Regions from separate parts of the Homo sapiens genome. Here regions 1, 2, 3, 5 and 6 are each linked to region 4. The links are contacts of gene promoters, found by promoter capture Hi-C in human tissues and cell types (Jung and others, 2019). All regions are on one chromosome and are shown on one strand. The core of a region is centred on a gene start or on the middle of the fragment in contact, and the rest is flanking DNA. Distances in the headings are between cores, read along the strand shown.

Region 1 (4,166 bases), core at 857-3,356, 380 kb after region 4:
GATTACAAGTGTGAGCCACCGCACCAGGCCAAGTTAGCCCACTCTTATATCAAAGGACTGAAATATAGGTTTGTTTAAGTCTGAAATCAACCTAAAATCTCTCAATGACACTGGGATGATGCTTATAATGATATAGTAAAAGGCCAAGCCGGGTGGATCACCTGAGGTTAGGCTTTCAGGACCAGCCTGGCCAACATGGTGAAACACCATCTCTACTAATAATATCAAAATTAGCTGGACGTGGTGGCACACGCCTGTAATCCCAGCTACTCAGGAGGCTGAGGCAGGAAAATCACTTGAACCCAGGAGGCAGAGGTTGCAGTGAGCCAAGATTGTGCCATTGCACTCCAGCCTGGGCAACAAGAGCAAAACTCCATCTCAATAATGATGATGATAATAATAATAATATAATAATAATATAGTAATGATAGCTGTGGTTTACTGAGTGCTTGGTATTTGCCATGAAATCTGTTAATACTACTACTTACTTAGCTGGGCCCAGTGGCTCACACCTGTAATCCCAGCAGTTTGGGAGGACGAGGCGGGCGGATCACAAGGTCAGGAGATTAAGCCCATCCTGGCTAGCACGGTGAAACCCCATCTTTACTAAAAATACAAAAATTAGCCGGGCATGGTGGCAGACGCCTGTAGTCCCAGCTACTTGGGAGGCTGAGGCAGGAGAATGGCGTGAACCCGGGAGGCAGAGCTTGCAGTGAGCCGAGATCCGCCAGTGCACTCCAGCCTGGGCGACAGAGCCAGACTCCGTCTCAAAACAAAAAAAAAATTAATAATAATAACAATAATATAGTAATGATAGCTGTGGTTTACTGAGTGCTTGGTGTTTGCCATGAAATCTGTTAATACTACTACTTACTTGCATAAAATCCACTGGATTTGTTTAATTTGACCCTTTCCAATCAGCCTTTCTCTTATTTGGTCACATGGGTCATATTTTTGTTCTTTACTCTTGCCTGCATCTTTTAGAGATCCACACACATGCCTGAAACATTCTCTGTTGTCCCTACTTTTTGCCTTTGCTTGGATAACCCCTATTAATTTCATTTAGTTTTCAGCCTGAGTATCACTTTCACAGGGAGACCTTCCCTGAACCCCGCTGCCCCAGTCTAGATTAGATTCCTCCGTCATACTCTCTTATTGTACTTTGCCTCAGGGCTATTGTGGTGCACAGCCTATACTCAGCATCTAGATGAGCATCTAACACCGAATAGCCTCACACTATCTGACAAGCACAGTTGTCAGGACAGGAGAATAATGTGAATATTTGTGGGAAAAAAAATTTTTTTTTTTTTGAGATAAACTCTTGCTGTGTCACCCAGGCCACAGTGCAGTGGCTCAATCATGGCTTACTATAGTTTCAACCTCCTGGGTTCAAGCAGTCCTCCCACCTCAGCCTCTTGAGTAACTGAGACTACAGGCGCATGCCACTACACCTGGCTATGGAGGGAATTCTTAACATGTAAAAGGCAAAATCTCATTTAATCTTTACAACAATGATTAGATGAGTCATGTTAGGCAAGTTACTCTGTTTGCCTCAATTGCCTCATTATTAAATAGGGATAATAATATCAACTTCAAGGTTTTAAGGATTAAATGAGTAAATACATGTGAAGTGCTTAGGATAGTGCCTGGCACATAATACGTGTTCAAGAAGTGTGTGTTAAATAGGGAGCAACATGAAGATGGTATTGTTATGATGATTGATAAAACTGAGGATCAGCTGGTTTGTGGCAGAGCAAGGTTTACAACTCAATCTGTCTACCTCCAGAGCTCAACATGACTCCAGGTTTGCACTAAATTTAATCTAGAGTAGAGCTTTCTACAGTAAGATTTCTTTCAAGCAACTGTTTTACTGCCATGGCTTTGCCAAAGTGAAAGATTCTAAAAATGAAATTACCCTCTTTTAGTGGATCTTATAATAAAAAAGTAACTAACTAGGAAAATAGTGGCAAAAATCTTAGAAAATTTCAAAATAATATTACTGAGTGATTTTTTTCACTTTGAAAAGGGTTTACTTCAGAATTTTATTAAATATATATTGTTTTCTCAACACATTTGAAATACACATTCTACAAAATTTTCTTTATAAGACCAGGCGCAGTGGTTCATGCCTGTAATCCCAGCACTTTGGGAGGCTGAGGCAGGCAGTTCACTTGAGTCCAGGAGTTCAAAACCAGCCTGGGCAAGTGGTGAGACCCCATCTCTACAAAAAGTAAAAAAGTTGGGCATGGTGGCAAACACCTGTGGTCCCAGCCACATGAGATGCTGAGGCAGAAGTTTTGCCAGAGCCCCGGAAGTCGAGGCTGCAGTGAGCCATGTTCCTGCTACTGCACGCCAGCCTCAGTAACAAAGCAAGACCCTGTCTCAGAAAAAAAAAAAAAAAAAAAGGATAAGTTTATTGTATATTTAAGACTTCTGACTGGGTGGGGTGGCTCGCAAGTGTAATATCAACTCTTTGGGAGGCTGAGGCAGGAGGACTGCTTGAGCCTGGGAGTTCGAGACCAGCCTGGGCCACATAGTGAGACCCTGTCTCTACAAAAAAATTTAAAAATTAGACAGATGTGGTGGTGCATGCCCCAGTAGTCCTAGCTACTCAGGAGGCTGAGGCAGGAGGCTCACATGAGGCTGGGAGGATGAGACTAGAGTGAGCAGTTATTGCACCACCATACTCCAGCCTGGGCAATGGAGCAATACCCTGTCTCAAAAAACAAAAAACAGAAAGACTTCTGTGACTTGATGAAATGGTGCCATTTTAGAAATTTTACACTAGAGCACAAAGCACTATGCAATGCTGGGATAATGAATAAGACTCAGTTCCTTCTTTCAAAGGAGATATCATGTATACAAAAAATGTTAAGAGAGAGAGTGAAGTGTAGCCTATGGGATGAGTATAGGCAGATGATCCAACTTCAAGCCTCTAAGTGGGAATTTTAAAGTTTTAAAGCTTTTAAAAGCATTATTTATCATCTAAGCGGGAGTTAAATAAAGAAAAAGTAAATGAAAAAAATTTAATAATATAAAAAATACAAAAACATTATTATAAAAGATGCTGAAGCTCATTATTAAAAATCAGAAGGCATGGATGGGTATTAAAGTTCAAAGTAAAAGTTTTTTCAAAAAAATTTCTTTGCTTAACCCTTAGACACACTCTCAGAAGTCATGGTTAACAATTTTTTTCTTTTTTGAGACTGATTCTCACTTTGTTGCCCAGCCTGGAGTGCAGTGACGCGATCTCGGCTCACTGCAAGCTCCGCCTCCCAGATTCACGCCATTCTCCTGCCTCAGCCTCCCGAGTAGCTGGGACTACAGGCACCCGCCACCATGCCCGGCTAATTTTTTTGTATTTTTAGTAGATACATGGTTTCATCCTGTTAGCCAGGATGGTCTCGATCTCCTGACCTCGTGATCCGCCCCCACCTTGGCCTCCCAAAGTGCTGGGATTACAGGCAAGAGCCACCACCCCGGCCCATGGTTAATAATTTTCTACAGATCCTTCCAGAAAATGTTTATGTGCATTCAAACATGTACAATGATGTCCTAGTTTTCTATGGCTGCTGTAACAAATGACCACAAACTTGGTGGCTTAAAAAAACAGGATTTATTCTCTCACAGTATGGAGGCCAGAAATCCAAAATGAGTCTTATGGACCTACATCAGGGTGTCAGTCAGCAGGGCCACACTCCCTCCAGAGCCCCTAGGAAAGAATCTGTTCCTTGCCTCTTCCAGCTTCTGGTGGCTGCTGGCACTCCTAGGCCTGTGGCCATCTTTCTCTACTCTATTCTAATTTTTTTTTTTTTTTTTTTTTTTTGAGACGGAGTCTTGCTCTGTTGCCCAGGCTGGAGTGCGGTGGTGCCATCTCGGCTCACTGCAAGCTCTGCCTCCCAGGTTCATGCCATTCTCTTGCCTCAGCCTCCCGAGTAGCTGGGACTACAGGTGCCTGCCACCACGCCCGGCTAATTTTTTGTATTTTTAGTAGAGACGGGGTTTCACCGTGTTAGCCAGGATGGTTTCGACCTCCTGACCTTGTGATCTGCCTGCCTTGGACTCCCAAAGTTCTGGGATTGCAGGCGTGAGCCACCGTGCCCGGCCTACTCTATTCTAATCTTTCTCTGATCCCTCTTCATATCACTTTCTCCATTGGGTCAAAT
Region 2 (4,391 bases), core at 784-3,283, 410 kb after region 4:
AGCTGGCGATTATGCAGATTTAGTAAAAGCATTAAAGAAGGTAAATATGAGGACTTGCAGTACTGGTATTGTAACAGCCATCAGGCCTTTGAATTTCTCATCAGTCATCTTTTTAATTACACATACATTGCCACTTAAGGAACATTACTGATGGTATTTGAATTACAGACATACATTTTTAAAGGGTTGTTTTAAATTCCTGTTGTGGGTTAGTTTCATTTTCAATCTTTGTTTTTTGTCACTTTGACTTTAGGTATGCTATTTGATAGCTTCTGTAACTCTCTAGGAAAAGAGAGTTGCTGATCTAGAACTACATTTTCCAGTTTTATAATTCTATAGGATGAGCTATTTAAGTTAGCTGTATTTAATTGGACAAATATTAAACATGAAGATAGCAAATGATAACACACTACTTTGTATCAGTATGTAAAGAGTATACGAATATGAGGTCAGTTCTGAAACAGACAAGTACTAAGTAAGAGATAAACATTTTTAGGAAATAATCTTTTGGTATTGCAAGTTGAATGCTGCTGGTGGACATTTTGTATGTAGTAACTTTTTATGAAAACTGTAAGTATAGATCAAACACTGTGGATATGATTATAGTGCTTAAGAACAAACTCTGAAAACATCTTCATGAATATAGCAAGAATGAAAATTTTGTTTTGTTTGCTTCCTCAGTCTGAAATTACAGAGGATTACAATGGTGAGGGGAGGAAGTTGATTTTTAATTATACGCACACCTAAGTCATTACTTGTAGTAGTTATATTCTGTAAAGCCACTGCGAACACTAAATTAGTGAATATTGAATCATTGCTTCTAAGAGAAATACAGGGTTAGGATCCTGCAACCCTTTGGTCACAACATTTCCATCAATCAGTACATAACTTTGTTTTATTCTGTTTGGAGATAGCATATTTAATATATGTTGTTGATTCATTAACATTGAACTCTTGGCCGACAACACTGTAACTCTTGCCTGATTGAAGCTTTTCCTAACGCATATATTTTCTCCCTAAGGTACATCACAGCCTGTTTGCACTTAGGAATACTAGACAGCATTTCAGCACTACACTTAGGGGCCATTTTAAACAACAAGAGCACCAACAAAAAACACAAAAATGCAAAAACATGGCACTGAATAAACCATGAAAAAGACACTTGTTTATAGTGTAAAAGCTAAAGCAAGAAGGTAGAGTGTTATCTTGTCTACCTCAGCTGGGAATGTGCACAATAGACAACACAAAATGTTCACAGCTCTGAACTTGTCTGTAAATGACCAGGAAAGTACCATGAGTGTTGATTTGGGGATTATAAGCAAGTTTTAGCAAGTAGGTGAATTTGCAAATATGGATTCGTGAATGATGAGGATCAACTATATTCTAGTAGTTAACCTTCCTAGGCTTTCCTTCAGTGGGACTTGGAGGCAGAGATATGATTTGTGAAATCTTTGTTCAGTCATCAATTTTCCATCTTGAAGAGTTACACTCGTGTAAAATAAATTAAAAGAGAGTTGCCCTAGGGGAAAAAGAGTTTTACCAACCTGGAACCTGGGAGGAAAGAATGGGAAGGGGAATAGTAGAGGGCACTGAGACAAGGAAAGTCAGGTTCCAGTGGCATATGAAGAGAGCTACAGATTCTCTGTCAATTCTTCCAGCATTTGGTTATTAATTAGAAATCTTATTGCTCTGGTGCTGAATTCTCGATGTGTCAAAGAAAACCTTTTCTTTTTCCTTATCATTAATATTATGTGTTTTCTACATGTATTTTCTAAGGATATTAGCTTCTCACACAAAGACAGTTCTGTGGTTTCCATTGGCATTGTGAATGTAAATATAATCTCTTGCTGTACTATATAAAGAGAGAGCATCATGGATTTTATATTTGAGTAGACAGACAATAGATTTCTGAGAGATCTAGGGTAGCAGTAGAAACTTCTTTCCCTTTTCACGTGGTGGGGTGGAGGGAATCAGAGACCACAAACAAGTAAAAAGAAACTGAATTTTGTGGCTAAAATATTTAAAACAATGAAAAGTTAACTTCAGTTGTAAAAATTAACCTGAAACGACATTTTCTTTTCTTTTTGCCTTAAGTAGTGACAGAGACATTTTATTTTTTTTATTTTCTTTTTTGAGATGGAGTTTCGTTATTGTTGCCCAGGCTGGAGTGCAGTGGCACGATCTCGGCTCACTGCAACCTCTGCCTCCCGTGTTCAAGTGATTCTTCTGCCTCAGCCTCCCAAATAGCTGGGATTTATAGGCACTTGCCATCACACCCAGCTAATTTTTGTGTTTTTAGTAGAGACGGGGTTTCACCATGTTGGCCAGGCTAGTCTCGAACTCCTGACCTCAGGTGATCTACCCTCCTTGGCCTCCCAAAGTGCTGGGATTACAGGCATGAGCCACGGTGCCCAGCTGACATTTTATTTTTTGTATTTGATTTTAGTTATATGTACACACAAACTTTGTATTATGTTGACTTCCTAGAAACATAACAAAAGTGGGGAAATGGTGAAATGGAAAAAAGTGGGGAAATGGTGAAATGGAAAAAAGAGGATGAGATTGAAGAATAGATTACAGACCAATCCTTTTTCCCTCCTTATAATTATCTCTTCTTTGTATTGTATAAATCAAGTAATCCCATTAATTTCTCAATTTTTTTCCTTTAATGAAAGTAGTAAAAAGGCATTAACTTTAAAATTTCTTATGATATTCCTGAAATTATTTTTAAACTGTTTTGAGTTGTCACCTGATTTAGCATATTCTGTGGGCTTTCCTGTTCTCACAGATTATAGTTCTTTTTTTTCTATTATTTTTAATTGATGTATTTATTTTTGAGACAGAGTTGCGCTTTGTCACCCAGGCTGGAGTGCAGTGGCACGATCTCAGCTCACTGCAACCTCCATCTCCCGAGTTCAAGCGATTCTCCTGCCTCAGCCGCCTGAGTAGCTGGGATTACAGGCGCGTGCCACCATGCCCGGCTAATTTTTTTTTTTTTTAATTTTTAGTAGAGACAGGGTTTCATCATGTTGGTCTTGAACTCCTGTCCTCAAGTGATTTGCCTGCCTCAGCCTCTGAAAGTGCTGGGATTACAGGCGTGAGCCACTGCGCCTGGCCTATAGTTCTTTTATTTATAAGATGCCTCCCTCCCAGCTCATCGCTTCTTTGATTTTGTCATGTGCCTATGCCTATGGACATTTGATTTTTTATATATATATAATTTATTTATCTTTACATTAAGATTTGGATTTTCGAAGTGCTTTCTTATATAATCTTTAGACTTCTATGTGGTATTAATCTTTTTTCACTTGTTCTTTCTACTTTTCCCCCCTTAATTATTGCTTGTTTTCATCATAGTTTTCTAAACACAGTAATTCATAATGGGTTTCATTAATTTGTTTCCTTTCCTCTGTCAACGGTGTGCTTTAGTTATTATTAACTAGTGGCTTTAATTTCTAGTTAAAGATAAATACCAATTGATAATTACTTTAAAGCACTTTGTTTTAATACTGTAGGCCTCAATTTATGAGAAAAGTGACAGCACTTAAAACTGTACAAGATTTCCTATTGTTTAAATTATATTGAGATTATGAGCTAAAGCTTCCATTCCCTGGTCTAGAACAGAAATTACTGAAAAGACAGAAGTCATTGTTTTTCTTACCTCTGAAATGGAGTCCCCCCTCATATGTTACTTTTCTTAAAAATAAACACTTCTCCATCTTCCCTACTCTCATTTCCCTGTTGAGAATAACTTGTTTATGGGAATAAACAATGAGTGTCAATGAGTGTGACAGGCAGGTATTATATTAGGGTATCTGGTCCATTGCTCACTTATAAGTTTATTTGAGCCTTTGCAATCTTGAAATTTAACAGATTCGCAGTATCTTCTTCAATACTATACAATAAGATCATGAGTGTCTAGAGTCTAGCTCCCACTGGTTACTGTTCCAACAATGGATAGGGAGAGGTATTCTCCTAAGAAAGGAATAGAATGATAGTTTTTTAACTGAGCCCATATGACAAAATCACCCTTTGAGCCATTTAAAAATACTGATGTCCAAATTTCATCCCAGATTCATTGAACTAGAATTTGTTGGAATGGGATCTTACATGTTTTTGATGTCCATTCCTAGAATATATATTTAGATGCTAAATATAAAGCCTAGCATCTAAATCATATCTGAGAGGTATTTTGATAAGGAAAAATAATCAGAACATTTATAAATACCAATAGTGATTTCAATACAGAAATGAATGGAAAATTTTTTTCTTCATAGACTTACAGTAATTAGAGATTTAACAAAATGTTTATTAGGACCCTGATCTCATCCTCTCGTAAGGAAAAGTGAACTTAACACAAGTTGAGAGGGAGAACATGCTTTACTTAATAA
Region 3 (4,668 bases), core at 681-3,180, 290 kb after region 4:
GCATCATTGAGAAAGACATTAAAAGTCAATCAGAAAGCACTGGCAAATGCTTCCTACACCTAAATAACCATGTATAAAATACCCAGACTGACCGGGCGCAGTGGCTCACGCCTGTAATCCCAGCACTTTGGGTGGCCGAGGTGGGCAGATCACCTGAGGTCAGGAGTTCGAGACCAGCCTGGCCAACATGGTGAAACCCTGTCTCTACTAAAAATACAAAAATTAGCTGGACACGGTGGCACGCACCTGTAATCCCAGCTACTTAGGAGGCTGAGGCACAAGAATTGCTTGAACCTGGGAGGCAGAGGCTGCAGTGAGCTGAGATCGTGCCACTGCACTCCAGCCTGGGCGACAGAGCAAGACTCCATCTCAAAAAAAAAAAAAAAAAAGTGCCCAGACTAGGCATGGTGGCTCATGCCTATAGTCCCAGGATTTTGAGAGGCCAAGGCAAGAGGATTGCTTTAGCCCAGGAATTTGAGACCAGCCTGGACAACATAGTGAGACCCATCTCTACAAAAAATATGTTTAAAAATAAATAATTAAAATAAAAACTAGCCAGGTATGATGACACACACCTAAAGTCCCAGCTACTTGGGTGGCTGAGACGGGAGGATAACTTGAGCCCAAGAGTTCAAGGCTGCAGTGAGCCATGATCATGCCACTGCATTTCAGCCTGGGTAACAGAGTGAGACCCTGTCTCAAACAAACAAATTCCCAGGAAAAAAGCAACTAACAACAAAGTGTTTAGAGAGAATGCTTCGTGTACATAACAGAATTAGTTCAGAAGGATGAGAGAGAATGTGCTAGATATCAAATTTAAGATATGAACTGGGAGTTCCCAAATTTCAGAAGCTTAGGACAAGAAGCTGGAGTCTCTGTGTCTATTTTTTCTTTCTCCCCCAAATCATCCTCTACATTGTCACAAGAGTATGTCATTCTGAAGTTCAAATTTGACCATGTTACTTCCTTATTTAAAAAGTGTTGCTAGGCAATGCACAATGACTCACACCTGTAATCCCAGCACTTTGGGAGGCTGAGGTGGGGGGATCACTTAAGGACAGGAGTTTGAGATCAGTCTGATCAACATAGCAAGACACCATATCTACATTAAAAAAAAAAAAAGGTGTTGCTGCTGACTCACCATTACTAGGAAGAAGCAAAACTTCACATGCAGACATATAAATCCTTTCACAGCTTGGTACTAACCTCTTCTTCCAGCCATCTCGCCACTCAGTCTTCTCTACAAATTTATACATACAGCCATGCTTTCCTACTCGATATCCCCCAACATATTGGGCTCTTTCACACCCTTTGCTTTGGTGTAAGCTTTCTGTCTAGAATGTACCTCTACTATATTTTCTGCTTAGTAAACTACACATCCTTTAAAACCTAGGTTACGGCCAGGCGCAGTGGCTCATGCCTGTAATCCCAGCACTTTGGTAGGCCAAGGCAGATGGATGGCTTGAGCTTAGGAGTTCAAGACCAGACTGGGCAAAATGGCAAAACCCCTTCTCTGCCAAAAATACAAAAATTAGCCAGGTGTGGTGGCATGCACCTGTAGCCCCAGCTACTCGGGAGGCTGAGGCAGGAGGATTGTTTGAGCTGGGGAGGTGGAGGTTGCAGTGAGCTGTGATTGTACCACTGCACTCCATCCTGGGTGACAGAGTCACACCTGTCTCAAACAAAAACAAAAACAAAAACGACCTAGGTTTAATGTCACCACACCCATGAGACCTTATCCAATTTCCCAAGGAGCCAGTTAGCACCTGATATGTAGCTGTATTTTAGCATTTATCATATTCTTTACTTATTTGTTTGCCTGGGTATTACTCCTCTTGGACTAAAAATTGTTCATAGCCAGGGAACATGTTTTATTTGCTGTTATAATATTTCCACTACCCAGAAAGACAGAAGAAGTATTTGTCAAAAGTCTGTATTTGTTCATTTTCATGATGCTGATAAAGACAAACCTGAAACTGGGAACAAAAAGAGGTTTAATTGGATTTACAGTTCCACATGCCTGGGGAGGCCTCACAATCATGGCAGGAGGCAAAAGGCACTTCTTACTTGGTGGTGGCAAAAGAAAATGAGGAGGAAGCAAAGTAGAAACCCCTGATAAACCCATCAGATCTCGTGAGACTTATTCACTATCAAGAGAATAGCATGGGAAAGACCGGCCCCCATGATTCAATTACCTCCCCCTGGGTCCCTCCCACAACACGTGGGAATCCTGGGAGATAAAATTCAAGTTGAGATTTGGGTGGGGACACAGCCAAACCATATCATTCTGCCTCTGGCCCCTCTAGATCTCATGTCCTCACATTTCAAAACCAATCATGCCTTCCCAACAGTCCCCCAAAGTCTTAACTCATTTCAGCATTAACCCAAAGGTCCACAGTCCAAAGTCTTATCTGAGACAAGGCAAGTCCCTTCTGCCTATGAACTTATAAAATCGAAACCAAGCTAGTTATTTCCTGGATGTAATGGGGGTACAGGTATTGGGTAAATACAGCCATTCCAAATGGGAGAAATTGGCCAAAACAAGTTACAGCATCCATGCAAGTCCAAAATCCAGTGGGGCAGTCAAATTTTAAAGCTCCAAAATGATCTCCTTTGACTGCAGGTCTCACATCCAGGTCATGCTGATGCAAAGGTGGGTTCCCATGGTCTTGGGCAGCTCTGCCCCTGTGGCTTTGCAGGGTACAGCCTCCCTCCTGGCTGCTTTCATTGGTCGGTGTTGAGTGTCTGCAGCTTTTCCAAGCACACAGTGCAAGCTGCCAGTGGATCTACTATTCTGGGGTCTGGAGAACGGTGGCACTCTTCTCACAGCTCCACTAGGCAGTGCCCCAGTAGGGACTCTGTGTGGGGGCTCCAACCCCACATTTTCCTCCTGCACTGCCCTAGCAGAGGTTTTCCATGAGGGCCCCGCTTCTGCAGCAAACTTGCCTGGGCATCCAGGCATTTCCATACATCTTCTGAAATCTAGGCAGAGGTTCCCAAACCTTAATTCTTCACTTCTGTGCACCCACAGGCTCAACACCATGTGGAAGCTGCCAAGGCTTGTGGCTTCCACCCTCTGAAGCCACAGCCCAAGCTCTATGTTAGCCCCTTTCAGCCACGGCTGGAGCAGCTGGGACACAGGGCACCAAGTCCCTAGACTGCACACAGCATGGGGACCCTGGGCCCAACCAACGAAACCACTTTTTCCTCCTGGGCCTCTGGGCCTGTGATGGGAGGGGCTGCTATAACGGTCTCTGACATGGCCTGGAGACATTTGCCCCATGGTCTTGGGGATTAACATTAGGCTTTTTGCTACTTATGCAAATTTCTGCAGCCGGCTTGAATTTCTCCTAAAAAAATGGGTTTGTCTTTTCTACTTCATTGTCAGGCTGCAAATTTTCTGAACTTTTATGCTCTGTTTCCCTTTTAAAATGGAATGCTTTTAACACACCCAAGTCACCTGTTAAATGCTTTGCTGCTTAGAAATTTCTTCTGCCAGATATCCTAAATCATATCTCTCAAGTTCAAAGTTCCACAAATCTCTAAGGCAGGGGCAAAATGCCTCCAGTCTCTTTGCTAAAACATAACAAGAGTCATCTTTGCTCCAGTTCCCAACAAGTTCCTCATCTGCATCTGAGACCACCTTAGCCTGGACTAAGCTTATGGTTCACATCACTATCAGCATTTTTGTCAAAGCCATTCAACAGGTCTCTAGGAGGTTCCAAACTTTCCCACATTTTCCTGTCTTCTTCTGAGCCCTCCAAACTGTTCCAACTTCTGCCTGTTACCCAGTTCCAAAGTCGCTTCCACATTTTCTGGTATCTTTTCAGCAATGCCCCACTCTACTGGTACCAACTTACTGTATTAGTTCGTTTTCATGCTGCTGATAAAGACATATCTGAAACTGGGAACAAAAAGAGGTTTAATTGGACTTACAGTTCCACATGGCTGGGGAGGCCTCTGAATTGTGGCAGGAGGCAAAAGGCACTTCTTACATGGTGGCGGCAAGAGAAAAATGAGGAGGAAGCAAAAGCGGAAACCCCTGATAAACCCATTAGATCTCGTGAGACTTATTCACTATCACAAGAATAGCATGGGAAAGACCAGCCCCCATGACTCAATTACCTCCCCCCTGGGTCCCTCCCACAACACGTGGGAATTCTGTGAGATACAATTCAAGTTGAGATTTGGGCGGGGACACAGGAACTTATCAAAAAGAATGAATATCCACACAGCTTCAAAATGGGTTTAGATAAATCCATTGATGATAGTTCCATATAGTCCTTAAGGGCAACTAGAATCTAGTATGTTATGGTACTGTTGTTTTGAGGGGGACATCAAAGGACAACCCTGACAAATCCATTTAGAGTCACCGTCAGAGGCATAAACCTAAACTAGATAGAATTTAGGCTCTGTCCTGACATTGTAATTATTTTGCTCTTTGGGGAATATTTTCTTAAGAATATTTAAGTTAATTTATTAAGCTTTTCTTAAGTCTCTTAGGAGACAGAGATTTTAGATTTCAGTTTTTTAAAATAAGTGCATTAATGCACATCTATAGTCCCAGTTACTCAGGAGACTGAGGCAGGAGGATCACTTGAGGTCAGGAGTTCAAGACTATAGTGTGCTGTTATTGCACCTGTGACTAGCCCCTGCTCTCCAGCCCGG
Region 4 (4,547 bases), core at 1,557-4,056:
AGCTGGGACTACAGGCGCACACCACCACATCCAGCTAATTTTTTGTATCTTTAGTAGAGACGGGGTTTCACCATGTTGGCCAGGATGGTCTCCATCTCTTGACCTCGTGGTCAGCCCACCTTGGCCTCCCAAAGTGCTAGGATTACAGGCCTGAGCCACTGCGCCCAGCCCAGAAGGGGCTTCAATTCTATGGGTGATCAATAGTCTATATCTTCTAGTATTTTAAGGACAGGCATTAGAAAAATATATATCATCATCATTTACGTATTTGAAAATGCCCACAGTTAATTTTGATCCCAGTCCTCTTCCTGATGATTACTGGATGACATCAATATTCCTTTCATGCCTTCAACAAACACTCCTTATTTTTATTTTCTTTTATTATTATTATTATTATTATTTTGAGATGGAGTTTCACTCTTGTTGCCCAGGCTGGAGTGTAATGGTGCAATCTTGGCTCACTGCAACCTCTGCCTCCCGGGTTCAAGCAATTCTCCTGCCTCAGCCTCCTGAGTAGCTGGGATTATAGGCGCCTGCCACCACACCCAGCTAATTTTTGTATTTTTAGTAGAGACGGGGTTTCACCATGTTGGCCAGGCTGGTCTCAAACTCCATACCTCAGGTGATCCACCCACCTTGGCCTCCCAAAGTGCTGGGATTACAGGTGCGAACCACTGCACCCAGCCAACAAACACTTCTTTAGCACGACCTGGCATGGGGAACTGCTCACCCCTTTGATGAAGGTGGGTTTGTCCTTGATGCCAAAATTCCAGAGCATGATATCTCCCCCTTTGGAACCCACAGCCACGGTGCTGGGGTGAGTTGGGTGCCACGCCAAGGATGTAGCCCTCCTGTCAAAGGGGGCAGCCTTTTGTAATATCCGGTAAGAATCCAGAGTGTGCAAAAAGGACTGCTGGAGCCCCTGCCACAGAGAGAAATGAATTAGGTTGAATTAAAACCCAAGTTCTGGGTAAACTGCCAATCTCTGCCTCCTTCATGGATGAGCCCTAGATCCAAGTCCTCCCACCAAAGGAAAGCTAACTGCCTGCCCTGTGCATGAAAATATTTGCAATGTACACGAACGAATAATCTTGGAAAGCAAAAGGGGCAGAGTGCATTCCAGCTGGGACCTTTACAACATAAGACATTTTTTACCTGGCTGAGTGCCCAGTAGGCCAGTCACCACAGTCTGGGTGATCGGACCACTCTGACAAGCTGGTGAACCAAGCCATCATCTAATTTGGGAGCATGCAATAGTAAAAATGCACGTGTAAACCCTTGAGGACTTGAGGCAAAAAATGCCTTACCTGCTGGACAGATGGCCAGGAAGCTCTGCCCAGCTTATGCTGGTGGAGGGTCCTGACGATGCTGCGGCATGGTGGCAGGATCTGTGGGCCAGCCAGCCCCACCCAGAGGCAGTCTGAGTCACATCTTCTGCTAGGACCTGCCAAGCAGAACAGACATATTTTCCTCTCCAATCTCACGAAAGGTTTTTCTGCTGAATTCCCCGAAAGGAAGCCTTGTTTCATTCGGCACGGTTAATCTCTGTCTCATCACCTCCTGCGGCCTTTCCATGTCTGTGTGGTCTCAACGAGCACCAGAAATAAAAAAATGAGTGAGGATTTGGCCCCTTCCCCAAAACACTCCCACAAACAGTAAGTCTGAAGTGAAAGTAAATACAGTCGTGCAGGGTTCCTGAGACCCCAGCCAAAGAAACACACAAGGATAAAGTACAATGCAGAACTCTTCCCAGTTTGGGCTGCAAAACTCGAGATGGGACTGGGTCACAATTTTATAAATCACATATAATGCACAATAAAAAGATTTTAGGGCAGCATGGCAGAAGTCACCGTTTAGGAAAAGAAGGAATAGGAAGGCCTGGAAATGCTCTTAACTAGGTTACTTCTGGGGAGGTAAGTGAAATTAGAATAGCAATAAAGCAACAACTCCTGATCACCAAACTGTATTTGAGGACCCAATCACTATAGGTCCGACGTCTTGACAACCAATTCTTTCTTCTCATGGACAAAAACCACTTGATTAACAAGCCCCAGCTCGTTTTTGAGTGTCTCGAAACTCCTTATAGCCCCAGGTTCAAGCCCCAGTAAACCTCAGAGAATGAGCTTTCTAAGGAGGAAGGAATTGGGGGCTCTCACAACTGACCACCGAGGACGTGCAGCTAACAAGCGTGACTATGAAATCCAGCACACACAGCGCCAGGAAAGGTAGGATTCTCTGAAGCCGTCCTAACTGTGCAAGAACCCTGATACGAACAAGGAATCTGACAAGTCCGTGTGTCTGTTGTTACGGAGCTCATCTGCTTCCTGTTACCTAGCGGGAGAGGTGTTGAAACCTAAACACTCTGGTGTCAAAGGACCTGCAGGTAGAATGCACAGCCGGAGGCACCCGTGACCTGCGCGGGCCTCGGGAGCCTCGGAGCACCCATCCCCCGCTGCAGCCTCCTGCGCGAGCACCCTAAAAGGCGGAAATATTCAAGCAGCAGGCACAGGCAGTACCGGAGCCCTTCGCACAGAGCTTCTTGGCCTCGGGCTCCAGCTCCAGGGGACTCCTGCTCCTCTTGTTCCTGGGGCGTAATACAATCTCGGAGGTCTTCTGGGTTTCTGGGCGTTTCTTGGGAGCCATCGCGTCCTCCGTGTGAAGGGGTACTGTGCTCTATGCGAAGATCATGGAGGGAGGATTGAGAGGCCTCTGGGGAGAAACAAGGCGGGGACTACAAAACTGCGGGGCCACAGGTAGCCGAGCTAAGCCAACTTCCCGCCAAACATGCCCAGGGCTTGTTCAAACCAGCTTGGAGCTCCGGCCCCACCCGTCTCGGAGACCCCGCCCCTTCCTGGAAGGCGGGGGCGCGGGGAGGGGGTGGTGCCAAGGGGCGGTGCCAGCGCTCCCGGGAGGGGCGGGAACTGCGCCAGGGCCAGTGCCAGCCCGGGTCAGCTGACCTCCCTGGAGCAAAGATGGTCCCCGGCTTTATGGATTTTTTTTTTTTTTTTAGCAACAGGGTCTGGCTCTGTCGCTCACTCTGGAGGGCAGTGGGGCGATCATAGCTCAGTGCAGCCTCCACCTCCTGGGCTCAAGCGATCCTCCCACCTCAGCCTCCTAAGTAGATGGGACTACAAGCGTACGCCACCACGCCCGGCTAATTTCTCTCTCTCTCTCTCTTTTTTTCTTTTTCTGGAGAGACGGGGTCTCGCTTTGTTGTCCGGGCCGGTCTTTAACTCCTGGGCTTAAGCGATCATCCAGCCTTGACTTCCTGACACGAACCCTCCTCAAACGCGGCGCTGCCAGGCCTCTGCGGGTCCGGGGAGGAGGCCCGGTGCCAGCCAAGGCTCTGTCTCCCGCCTTGCAATTGGTGATGACGCCCGCTCGGGCTTTGGGATTGGCTGGTCCCTACAGGGTGTAGTTGGGGAGTGGCGGCTTTGTAGAGAGCTAGTGCCTTTCCTAAGTTAGAAGCTGGGCTCTACCAGCGGTCAGCTTTGCAGTCGGATTCCAGAAACTACAGTCCCATCGAATCCAAGCTGCTTCTCTGTGAAGGGAGAATGATTGGAACTCCTTGCCTTTTTTTTTTTTTTTTTTTTTTTTTCCTAGAGGCAGTGTCTCTCTTCCGTTACCCAGGCTGGAGTGCAGTGATGTAATCACAGCTCACTGCAGCCTTGACCTCAAGTTTCACTGATCCTCCCACCTCAGCCTCCCAAGTAGGCTTGCAGACCTGTATCCCCAAGCCTAATTTTTTTATTTTTATTTTTGTAGAGACAAGGTCTTGCTATGTTTCCCACGTTGGTCTGGACCTCCTGGGCTCAAGTGATCCTCCTGCCTCTGCCTCCCAAAGTGCTGGGATTACAGGCATGAGCCACCGTGTCTGGTTCTCACTGCTCTTTTATTTGTTTGGTCGTTGGCTGTTTTTATTTTTTCTTTCTTTCTTTCTCTCTTTCTTTTTTTTTTTTTTTTTTTTGAGACAGGGCCTCTCTCTGTCACCCAGGCTGGAGTGCAGTGGCAGGATGTGGGCTCAATGCAGGCTGGACTTCCTGGACATCGATCCTCCCACCTCAGCCTCCCGAGTAGCTGGGACTACAGGTGCGCGCCGCAACACTCAGCTAATTTTTGCATTTTTTGTAGAGACAGAGTCTCCCTAAGTTGCCTAGGCTGGTCTAGAACTCCTGGCATCCATCCACCTCGGTCTGCCAAAGTGCTGAGATTACAGGTGTGAGCCACTGTGCCCAGCCTCCTCACTGCTTTTTTTTTTTTTTTTTTTTTGAGACGGAGTCTCACTCTGTTGCCCAGGCCGGAGTGCAGTGGCACAATCTCGGCTCACTGCAATCTCCGCCTCCCGGGTTCAAGCGATTCCCCTGCCTCAGTCTCCGGAGCAGCTGGGACTAGAGGCACACACCACCACGCCTGACTAATTTTTTGTATTTTAGTAGAGACAGGGTTTCACCATGTTGGCCAGGATGGTCTCGATCTTCTGACCTTGTGATCTGCCTGCCTCGGCCTCCCAAAATGCTGGGATTATAGGCGTGAGCCACCATGCCCAG
Region 5 (4,488 bases), core at 373-2,872, 270 kb after region 4:
ACTCGGGAGGCTGAGGCATGAGAATTGATTGCATGAACCCAGGAGGCAGAGGTTGCAGTGAGCTGAGATTGTGCCATTGCACTCCAGCCTGGGTGATGGAGCGAAACTCTGTCTCAAAAAAAAAAAAAAAAGTTATTTTCTCTTACCATCCTAGGAAAGATAAGAAAAAATTTATAATGTGAGACAAATTCAACCACTTCTTTTCCTTCTAAGTTTGTTTCTCATTTAGAAATATGATATCAAAAATAAATATTTATTGGAAGAACAAAGGTCAAAACAGTCCCTATGTTCAGGCATGGTAACAAAGATTAGCAAGACTCCAAAGGCTATTTGTAAATATACCCTTGAAAAGAAAAAAGGCAAGGCTGTTCTCCCTGAAGATTTAGCCTATCTTTTGCCTGTACATTCACTATTCTTTATCGTGCCAACCCTTGAAGAGAAGGCAAAGACTGCATATGTGAGACTTTAGAAGACAATCATGTTTCTAAACAGCAGGTCTGGTAGTTCATAGACTATCAAGAAAGACAATCAATTTTAGGTTTCATTAAATAGTTTACTCTTAAGATACTAGACGTATATTAATTAATTCAGCCTCTCAACCCTCTGTGAGGTAGCTTTTATCAACTCCATTTGTTGGGGAAATTTGATCAAGGAGAATAATAACAGTGTTTTCTATTTACAAAATACCTTCCCTATAAGGAACTCCACAAGTTTATCTTCTCAATCATCTTTCATTCCTGTGAGGTAGGTGGCAATATTACCTTTCCCACTTTTATAGGTGAAATGCTGTGGCTCAAGGAGCTTAATGACTTACTCACATGGTAGCCTGTATTTTATCCACTAACTAGAATGTACTCTTGAGATTAACACTAGACCATGGACTCAAGGCTTAACTGCACATAACTGACGTGTGGAGCTTCTAGTTTTCTCTATAGCCATCTTTCAATGCATCGCATTCCAAAAAGGACTGGAGTCATGCTTGCTGTTTAAGCTCATGTGTTCACTGTTTATGAAGTTTATTGTTATCATTTCTCTAAATTGGACTACTTAAGTTTCGTCTAGGTGCCCAAGGGCTAAATTATTTTTTGTTTACTGTCTGTGCACCAGCATTGTAAATGATGTCATGAGGAGTGTATAAAACTCTTAGACAAAGCAGCAGGGCCAATAAAAGCAGCTCACTTGGGGAAGAGTACATTTCTTCTTTCCTTTTTTTTTATGTAGCCATCACACAAAAAGATGACTCATTAAGTCCAAAAGAGGTGACTATGCCATGTAAGCACTTCTTACGCAGCCTTCCACAAAGAGACCTGAGTGGCAGCATAAGGCATCCTCTTCTGTGCAATTTCCTCCAGGCAGAATGTGCATTTGTGTGGCTATATACACAATTATAATCTCCTCTGAAAGGCAATTCCTTCCATATGACAGGCTGAACAGTGTCCTGAGTGCTAGCCTCATGTTGCCCAAGCAGTTAACATGCTGATATACCAGACACATTTAATCTCTCCTTTCTGAAAAACTAAGATGGGACAGAAGAGGCAAAGTTGGAAAGAACTCCACACAGAGAGAAAGGAGGCCAGCCCAAGCGCCCAAACTCACTTTCTCATGGGCTGAACTTCTTTGTGTGTTGCCTACTTACGTGTCAATTTGCAGGACTTTGGGGCATGAGAACCATGGAGCCGACCGGTTCTGGCAGCCTCTCCATTTGACAAGCAAAGCCGAAGACGTGTGGCCTTTCATATATCTTACATTCAAAAGTGTTATTGTTTCAAGCATGCCTATTTTAAAATACAGAATTTTCCCATTTAGAACAGGTCTTTGTAAGTTGGCCACAGGAGGAGTTCTGCCACATTAATTTAAAGGGAAAAAAAAAAAGTGGCAATGGGCCCTAATGCAGCTCTATCCCCGCCAGATGCCTCTGTTTACTTTGGGCCAATGGGACTGTCCCAGGTGAGAGAAGTCTGAATTTAAAAAACACCTGATCTGAAGTCCTGGGGCACAAGCAGATTTCTGTCTGAGATTACAGAAACTGAAGCTTGTGTTTTATCACAATTACCTGTAATCTCGGGGCTAGATAATAGTATTAACGAGACCTTGAGTTACACAATAGGACAGCTGGAAAAAAGGCTCTTACTTTCTCCAAAGAATAGTGCTTTAAAAGCTAATTGAATGAAGAAAAAGAACAGGCTCTGAAAGTGCTGTCTCAAACAATATTTACTTTTAGTAGGTTCCTGCTAATCAAACAAAACTTAGTCAAAAGCTTTCCATGAAAAAAATACATTTGATGATTTCAGCAGTAATTGCTTTGTTTAAAGAAAGGTGCTTAAGAAAAAACATAGCTAGTGGGATCAGTAATTTGTAAGTTCAGTTGTGTTTGGGAAAATCCCTCCTCTCTTTGATAAATCATTAAAATTCTGCTCAGATAAATGTGTTTTGACTTGAAATTCCAATCATAGAATGAGCTATTTCCTAAGGCCCCTAGGGAAGTAGTGTAAGGGTGATCCCAACACAGAAAGAGGACCCAGAGATTAGTTTACAAGGGTAATTCCAGTCTTAATCAAAGCATATCACTCTGTCCAACTAAAGGACAGGATCTCATTGAGATGCTCCAAAATTGTAGAAAATCTCCTTCCTTTTTAAAATATTGGTTTTACAAAATGGATTAAATTTTAATGTTATGTAACCCAAACACAGAAACTATGGTATCAACCAAGAAATTAACTTTAGGTATAAATCAGAGTTAAAACCGAAAAGATCCAGAGCAGATTTAATCATCCTTTTTCATTCATGGAAGGGGGGAAAAACATAGTTTCTCTCACATGTTAGGAATTCAGTAACTATTTGTTGAACTGGATTCCTTTCTCCCATTTATTTTAAAATTTATTCTGTTACTTAAAGTAGACCATTCATTCAACAACTGAGCACTTCATTTGGGCCAAGCATTGTGCTAGATTTTAGAGAGAAAAGGCCTGCCCTCATGGCTCACATTCTAATAAGAAACAGACAATAACCAAGTATACAAGTAGGTACACAAGATAACTCTGATAAGTGCTATGAAGGACATAAATAGGATGATGAACCAGAAATAGGATAATGGATCATGTCTCTTCTGCTCTACTATTATTTTTATTTATTTACTTATTTTTGAGATGGAGTCTCGCTCTGTCGCCCAGGCTGGAGTGCCGTGGTGCAATCTCGGCTCACTGCAAGCTCCGCCTCCCGGGTTCACACCATTCTCCTGCCTCAGCCTCGCGAGTAGCTGGGACTACAGGCGCCTGCCACCACGCCCGGCTAATTTTTTGTATTTTTAGTAGAGACAGGGTTTCACCGTGTTAGCCAGGATGGTCTCGATCTCCTGACCTCGTGATCCACCCGCCTTGGCCTCCCAAAGTGCTGGGATTACAGGCGTTGAGCCACTGCTCCCGGCCTGCTCTACTATTATTTTTAAAACTTCAATTTATCTACTCGGCCTCCTAGAATTATTCATTTAGCACATATTGCATTTGTGCAAATAAAAGTGATCCCCAACTTCTGAATAGCATTTGGAATAAAGATTTTAACATTACTTGAATATATAAATGATAAACAAAGTCAAAAATTTTAAAGCTATCTTAAAACCCCAGAATAACACTGACATCACTCTGCAATTTACTTTGGAGAAATGGAGGTAGGCAAGGGTTGGGAACAACATGGCTTAGAACTTACTGGCTCTTTTTTCCCCCCAACAAAAAGATATTTATTTATTACATGTATTAAATAGGTTACAGAATCTTTGGAAAAGGAAAAAAATCTAGATCGACCTTCCAGGAACAACTCCCAAAAGGCCCATTCCAGAACTAGGCTACCAAGGGAACTGCTGTCCCTTCCATGACTGAGAAGCTGCTGACCAAACTGAGAAAAGGCCAAGATAGCTGCTGGCTCTAGAACCATATAGGTCACATACTCTTTACTTATTATACTGTCTTTTTATGTTATGGTCATTTATGAATATGTCCCATCTCCCATCTACTGTGTAAGTTTCCTGTGGGGAGGGATGCTTTATATTCATATATTCATGCCTGGCTTTATATAGAGAAGGTATTCAGGGAGGAAGAAAAGGAAGGAGAAGGGTAGGGGGAGGAAAAGGAAAGAAAGAGGTGACTTTGTGAACATGTTCATAATTATTTTATTTATTTATTATTATTATTTTGAGACAGAGTCTTGCTCTGTCGCCCAGGCTGGAGTGCACTGGCGTGATCTCAGTGGACTGCAACCTCTGCCTCCCGGGTTCAAGCGATTCTCATGCCTCAGCCTCCCAAGTAGCTGGGACTCCAGGTGCGCACCACCATGCCCAGCTATTTTTCATATTTTTAGTAGAGACAGGGTTTCACCATGTTGGCCAAGCTGGTCTCGAACTCCTGACCTCAAGTGATCTGCCCGCCTCAGCCTTCCAAAATGCTGGGATTACAGGCATGAGCCACCGCACCTGGCCCATAATCATTTCAAAGTGAC
Region 6 (4,183 bases), core at 729-3,228, 320 kb before region 4:
ACTCCAGCCAGCCTGGGTGAAAAAGTGAAACACCTTTCTTTAAAAAAAAAAAAAGAAAAGAAAAAAAAGAAAACAAAATGATTATGCCTTTATGTGTTGTGTGTATCGTACTAAACCCAGTGCTGTGCATAGAGGAAATTTTACAGTCTATAGTGTTACATAAGTACTGGGGCCTTGCATAAAGTAGATATCTGGTAATTATTTGTTGACTACTCCATGTCTAGTCAAATGGCACTTTAATTTTATGTTTTGGAACAGTTCAGTATTAAGGATTAGTAATAGGAAAAAGACTTAACATTTTAATTCTGTGAATTTAAGTCATTGTCTTCTGAAGATGGAGTACTTTAAAAGCTCCAAGGAGTTATCTGGAAAAAAAATGTAAGCAGCTTTCCATCAAAAGACATTATGGTTAAGGTTTGTACTGTAGGCCTGGTGTGGTGGCTCACGCCTGTAATCCCAGCACATTGGGAGACTGAGTCGGGTGGATCACGAGGTCAGGAGATCGAGACCATCCTGGACAACATGGTGAAACCCCGTCTCTACTAAAAATAACAGAAATTTGTTGAATGTGGTGGTGTGTGCCTATAGTCTCAGCTACTCAGGAGGCTGAGGCAGGAGAATTGCTTGAATCCAGGAGGTGGAGGCTGCAGTGAGCCAAGATGGCGCCACTGCACTCTAGCCTGGGCGACAGAGTGAGACTCTGTCCCAAAAAAAAAAAAAAAAAAAATTTGTATGGTAAAAACCTTGTGGAGCTCTGATCTTGAAACTTCGTAATTTTTATTGCCTGAACAGTCAGAAGGCTCCTAGACAACTCTGATTTTGGCTCAGTTTTCAGTAGCTCCAAAGAATAAGAAAAGGATAATCTGATATTGCTGGCAGTCTGCACTCTTGCCTTTCTGGGCCAAGACATGCTTTTCCAAATAAAATCAAGGAAATAGTAAACCACTAGTAAAAATGAATAAAGCATCCAAGAGTTTGCCTCCTGTCATGTCCTGTTTTCTCCTTTTTGTTTCTAGGCTGTTTGATATTAAACTCATGTGCCAAAACTATACTGTGGACTTGTCCTTCCTACTTCCCCTTTCAAGCTGATGGGAAATAATTATGGAAAGACATTATGTTTATTATATATTCATTGTTTTTATTGCGTGCTATTTCTGTTTAATAGTCTCTGCATACATTTACAAGTGCAATTTTTATTTTTTATTATTATTTTTTGAAATGGAGTCTCACTCTGTCACGCAGGCTGGAGTGCAGTGGTGTGTTCTCAGCTCTGCAGCCCCCGCTTCCCAGGTTCAAGTAACTGCCTCAGCCTTCTGAGTAGCTGGGATTACAGGTGTGCACCACCACGCCCAGGTAATTTTTGTATTTTTTTTAGTAGTGACGGGTTTTCGCCATGTTGGCTAGGCTGACCTCCAACTCCACCTGACCTCAGGTAATCTGCTCACCTTGGCCTCCCAAAGTGCTGAGATTACAGGCATGAGCCACCACACCCGGCCTACAAATGCAGTTTTTTAAAAAGCTTTGCAAACCTCTTTACTGAGCTAATTTGGGTTATAGATAGCATTGGGAAACTATCTATCAGTCTGTCTATCTATCTATCTATTTATTTATGACAATCTCGCCTTGTCGCCCACGATGGAGTACAGTGGTGCAATGTTGGCTCACTGCAACCTCCGCCTCCCGGGTTCAAGTAATTCTCGTGCCTCAGTCTCCAGAAGAGCTACTACAGGCCGTTGGCACCATGCCCAGCTAATTTTTCTATTTTTAGTAGAGATGAGATTTTGCCATGTTGGCTAGGCTGGTCTCAAACTCTTGGCCTCAAGTGATTCACCTGCCTCAGCCTCCCAAAGTGCTGGGATTGCAGGCTTGAGCCACCATGCTGGCCAGAAACTATTTAAAAACAAACTCTTGGGCTGGGTGCAGTGGCTCATGCCTATAATCCCAGCACCTTGGGAGGCTGAGGCGGGCGGATCACAAGGTCAGGAGATCAAGACCATCCTGGCTAACACAGTGAAACCCTGTCTGTACTAAAAACAGAAAAAATTAGCTGGGCACGGTGGCACACGCCTGTAATCCCAGCTACTTGGGAGGCTGAGGCAGGAGGCTCGCTTGAACCCAGGAGGTGGAGATTGCAGTGAGCCGAGATTGCACCACTGCACTTCAGCCTGGGCGACAGAGCAAGACCCTATCTCAAGAAAAAAACAAAAACAAAAAAACTTGTGGGCATGCTACAGGAAAGCTTAGGTGAGTAAATATAGCAAAACAAGACATGATTTATTTTTTTTTTTTTTTTGAGATGGGGTTTCGCTCTTGTTGCCCAGGCTGGAGTGCAGTGGTGCAACCTTGGCTCACTGCAACCTCCACCTCCCCGGGTTCAAGCGATTCTCCTGCCTCAGCCTCCTGAGTAGCTGGGATTACAGGCATGCCCCACCATGCCCGGCTAATTTTCTATTTTTAGTAGAGACGGAGTTTCTCCATGTTGGTCAGGCTGGTCTCGAACTCCTGAACTCAACTGATCCGCCTGCCTCGGCCTCCCAAAGTGCTGGGATTACAGGTGTGAGCCATCTCGCCCAGCCCAAGACATAATATGTTTGTGGAGTATCTTAATAACTATTGCCTACGGTAGTTAATGGTATATCTTATCTCCATAGAACCATTTTTTTTTTCTTTTGGTTTGTGAATTTGTTGTATGAATTGGTTCTGAGTTTGGTTTTCAACACATTTAAATGGAATTTATATTTAGGTTTCAGTAGTTATTAGTGTGAGGGATACTCTTGAAATTTGTGCCAGGTACTTTTCTGGCTCAAACTATTATGGATCAGGCGTAGGGTAGCTGAAGTTCTAGATTATTACTGTGAAATCAAGTGCTGTTTTTGTTAATGTTCATTTGTCTGGTATAAGTTTGCTCTGGGGCTAAGCTAGATCTATGGAAAGACTTAACCCTTTTCCAGAAAGCTTCCAACTTAGGGAAAAAAATTTTTTTTTTTCTAATTCTGACTGTTCCACTTCTGAAAAAAACAGATCCACAGATCAGACTTGTAAATGATCTGTTTTCTTAAGATATCTTCTAACAGAATGGGTCTCCAGGGAACTGAGTGACAACACACATTTAGCTGGGAGTGGCAGTTCATCTCCCTAAACGTAATTTAACATCACATTTATCTACACACTACAGTTTTGGAGGCATACTTGGAGATTGAACTTATACTTCTCTTGGCTTATTTTATTTTATTTTATTTATTTTTGAGATGGAGTCTCGCTCTGTCGCCTAGGCTGGAGTGCAGTGGTGCGATCTCTGCATACTGCAAGCTCCACCTCCTGGGTTCACACCATTCTCCTGCCTCAGCCTCCCGAGTAGCTGGGACTACAGTTGCCCACCACCACGCCCGGCTAATTTTTTGTATGTTTTTAGTAGAGACAGGGTTTCACCATGTTAGCCAGGATGGTCTCGGTCTCCTTACCTTGTGATCTGTCTGCCTTGGCCTCCCAGAGTGCTGGGATTACAGGCATGAGCCATGGCGCCCGGCCAGCTTTATTTTTATAATTTTGTGTCTGATATATTTCTAACATAATTGTGTAGAGAAGCTGAGATTTCTTGAACTTTGGAAAACATTGAAATCTTGATAGAAAAAATACTAAATATGGCCAGGCGCCGTGGCTCATGCCTGTAATCCCAGCACTTTGGGAGGCCAAGGCGGGTGGATCACCTGAGGTCAGGAGTTCGAGACCAGCCTGGCCAATGTGGTGAAACCCCATCTCTACTAGAAATACAAAATATTAGCCGGGCATGGTGGCAGGCGCCTGTAATCTCAGCTACTTCGGAGGCTGAGGCAGGAGAGTAGTTTGAACTAAGGAGGCGGAGGTTGCAGTGAGCAGAGATTGTGTCACTGTACTTCAGCCTGGGCAACAAGAGTGAAACTCTATGTCCAAAAAAAAAAAAAAAAAAAAAAGGAAAGAAAAAATGCTAAATATAACTTATGTTGTGGTCTGGAAAGAAATAGCAGCATACATAGGTCATAGAAACTTCAGTTGAGTTTATATTGATGTAGCTGCTTTTATGAAGAGGGAGGGGAAAAACTAAGAGTTGAATATATTTAACTATTGTGCAACAGAGTGTCACTAAAATAGTTATAAATATTCCTTTTTTTTTTTTTTTTTTTTTTGGGGGAGAGTCTCGCTCTAT

What was found. Contacts are between HindIII fragments. The study calls those that stand out against the background at their distance.
Region 1: a contact is called between a fragment that was not itself captured here and the fragment with the promoter of DDB2 in region 4, in 2 of the 25 tissues and cell types used here (dorsolateral prefrontal cortex and mesendoderm cells).
Region 2: a contact is called between a fragment that was not itself captured here and the fragment with the promoter of DDB2 in region 4, in 1 of the 25 tissues and cell types used here (dorsolateral prefrontal cortex).
Region 3: a contact is called between a fragment that was not itself captured here and the fragment with the promoter of DDB2 in region 4, in 1 of the 25 tissues and cell types used here (hippocampus).
Region 5: a fragment that was not itself captured here is called in contact with the fragment with the promoter of DDB2 in region 4 in 1 of the 25 tissues and cell types used here (adrenal gland).
Region 6: a fragment that was not itself captured here is called in contact with the fragment with the promoter of DDB2 in region 4 in 1 of the 25 tissues and cell types used here (hippocampus).

The regions. Positions count from the first base shown.
Region 1 is chr11:46,830,101-46,834,266 of GRCh38, reverse strand. All of the region lies in intron 1 of CKAP5 (cytoskeleton associated protein 5), which reads left to right. Among named protein-coding and RNA genes, the nearest start is that of CKAP5, 14 kb to the left of the region's middle. The HindIII fragment of the contact is 9,291 bases long and covers 1-4,166 here.
Region 2 is chr11:46,803,680-46,808,070 of GRCh38, reverse strand. CKAP5 (cytoskeleton associated protein 5) reads left to right here. Exons shown (of 44, transcript NM_001008938.4): 8 at 1-40. Among named protein-coding and RNA genes, the nearest start is that of CKAP5, 40 kb to the left of the region's middle. The HindIII fragment of the contact is 5,433 bases long and covers 1-4,391 here.
Region 3 is chr11:46,926,664-46,931,331 of GRCh38, reverse strand. No RefSeq gene overlaps it. Among named protein-coding and RNA genes, the nearest start is that of CSTPP1, 7.8 kb to the left of the region's middle. The HindIII fragment of the contact is 4,284 bases long and covers 1-4,072 here.
Region 4 is chr11:47,213,233-47,217,779 of GRCh38, reverse strand. DDB2 (damage specific DNA binding protein 2) reads right to left here and starts at 2,806. Exons shown (of 10, transcript NM_000107.3): 1 at 2,517-2,806; 2 at 1,308-1,444; 3 at 731-922. The coding sequence starts at 2,643. RefSeq lists enhancers at 2,474-2,753, 2,043-3,242, 3,084-3,323, 2,530-3,365, 3,366-4,202 and a silencer at 2,804-3,013. The HindIII fragment of the contact is 25,797 bases long and covers 1-4,547 here.
Region 5 is chr11:46,945,313-46,949,800 of GRCh38, reverse strand. All of the region lies in intron 1 of CSTPP1 (centriolar satellite-associated tubulin polyglutamylase complex regulator 1), which reads right to left. Among named protein-coding and RNA genes, the nearest start is that of CSTPP1, 11 kb to the right of the region's middle. The HindIII fragment of the contact is 6,510 bases long and covers 1-4,488 here.
Region 6 is chr11:47,533,790-47,537,972 of GRCh38, reverse strand. The region is part of intron 1 of CELF1 (CUGBP Elav-like family member 1); the gene reads left to right. Among named protein-coding and RNA genes, the nearest start is that of CELF1, 17 kb to the left of the region's middle. The HindIII fragment of the contact is 4,129 bases long and covers 1-4,042 here.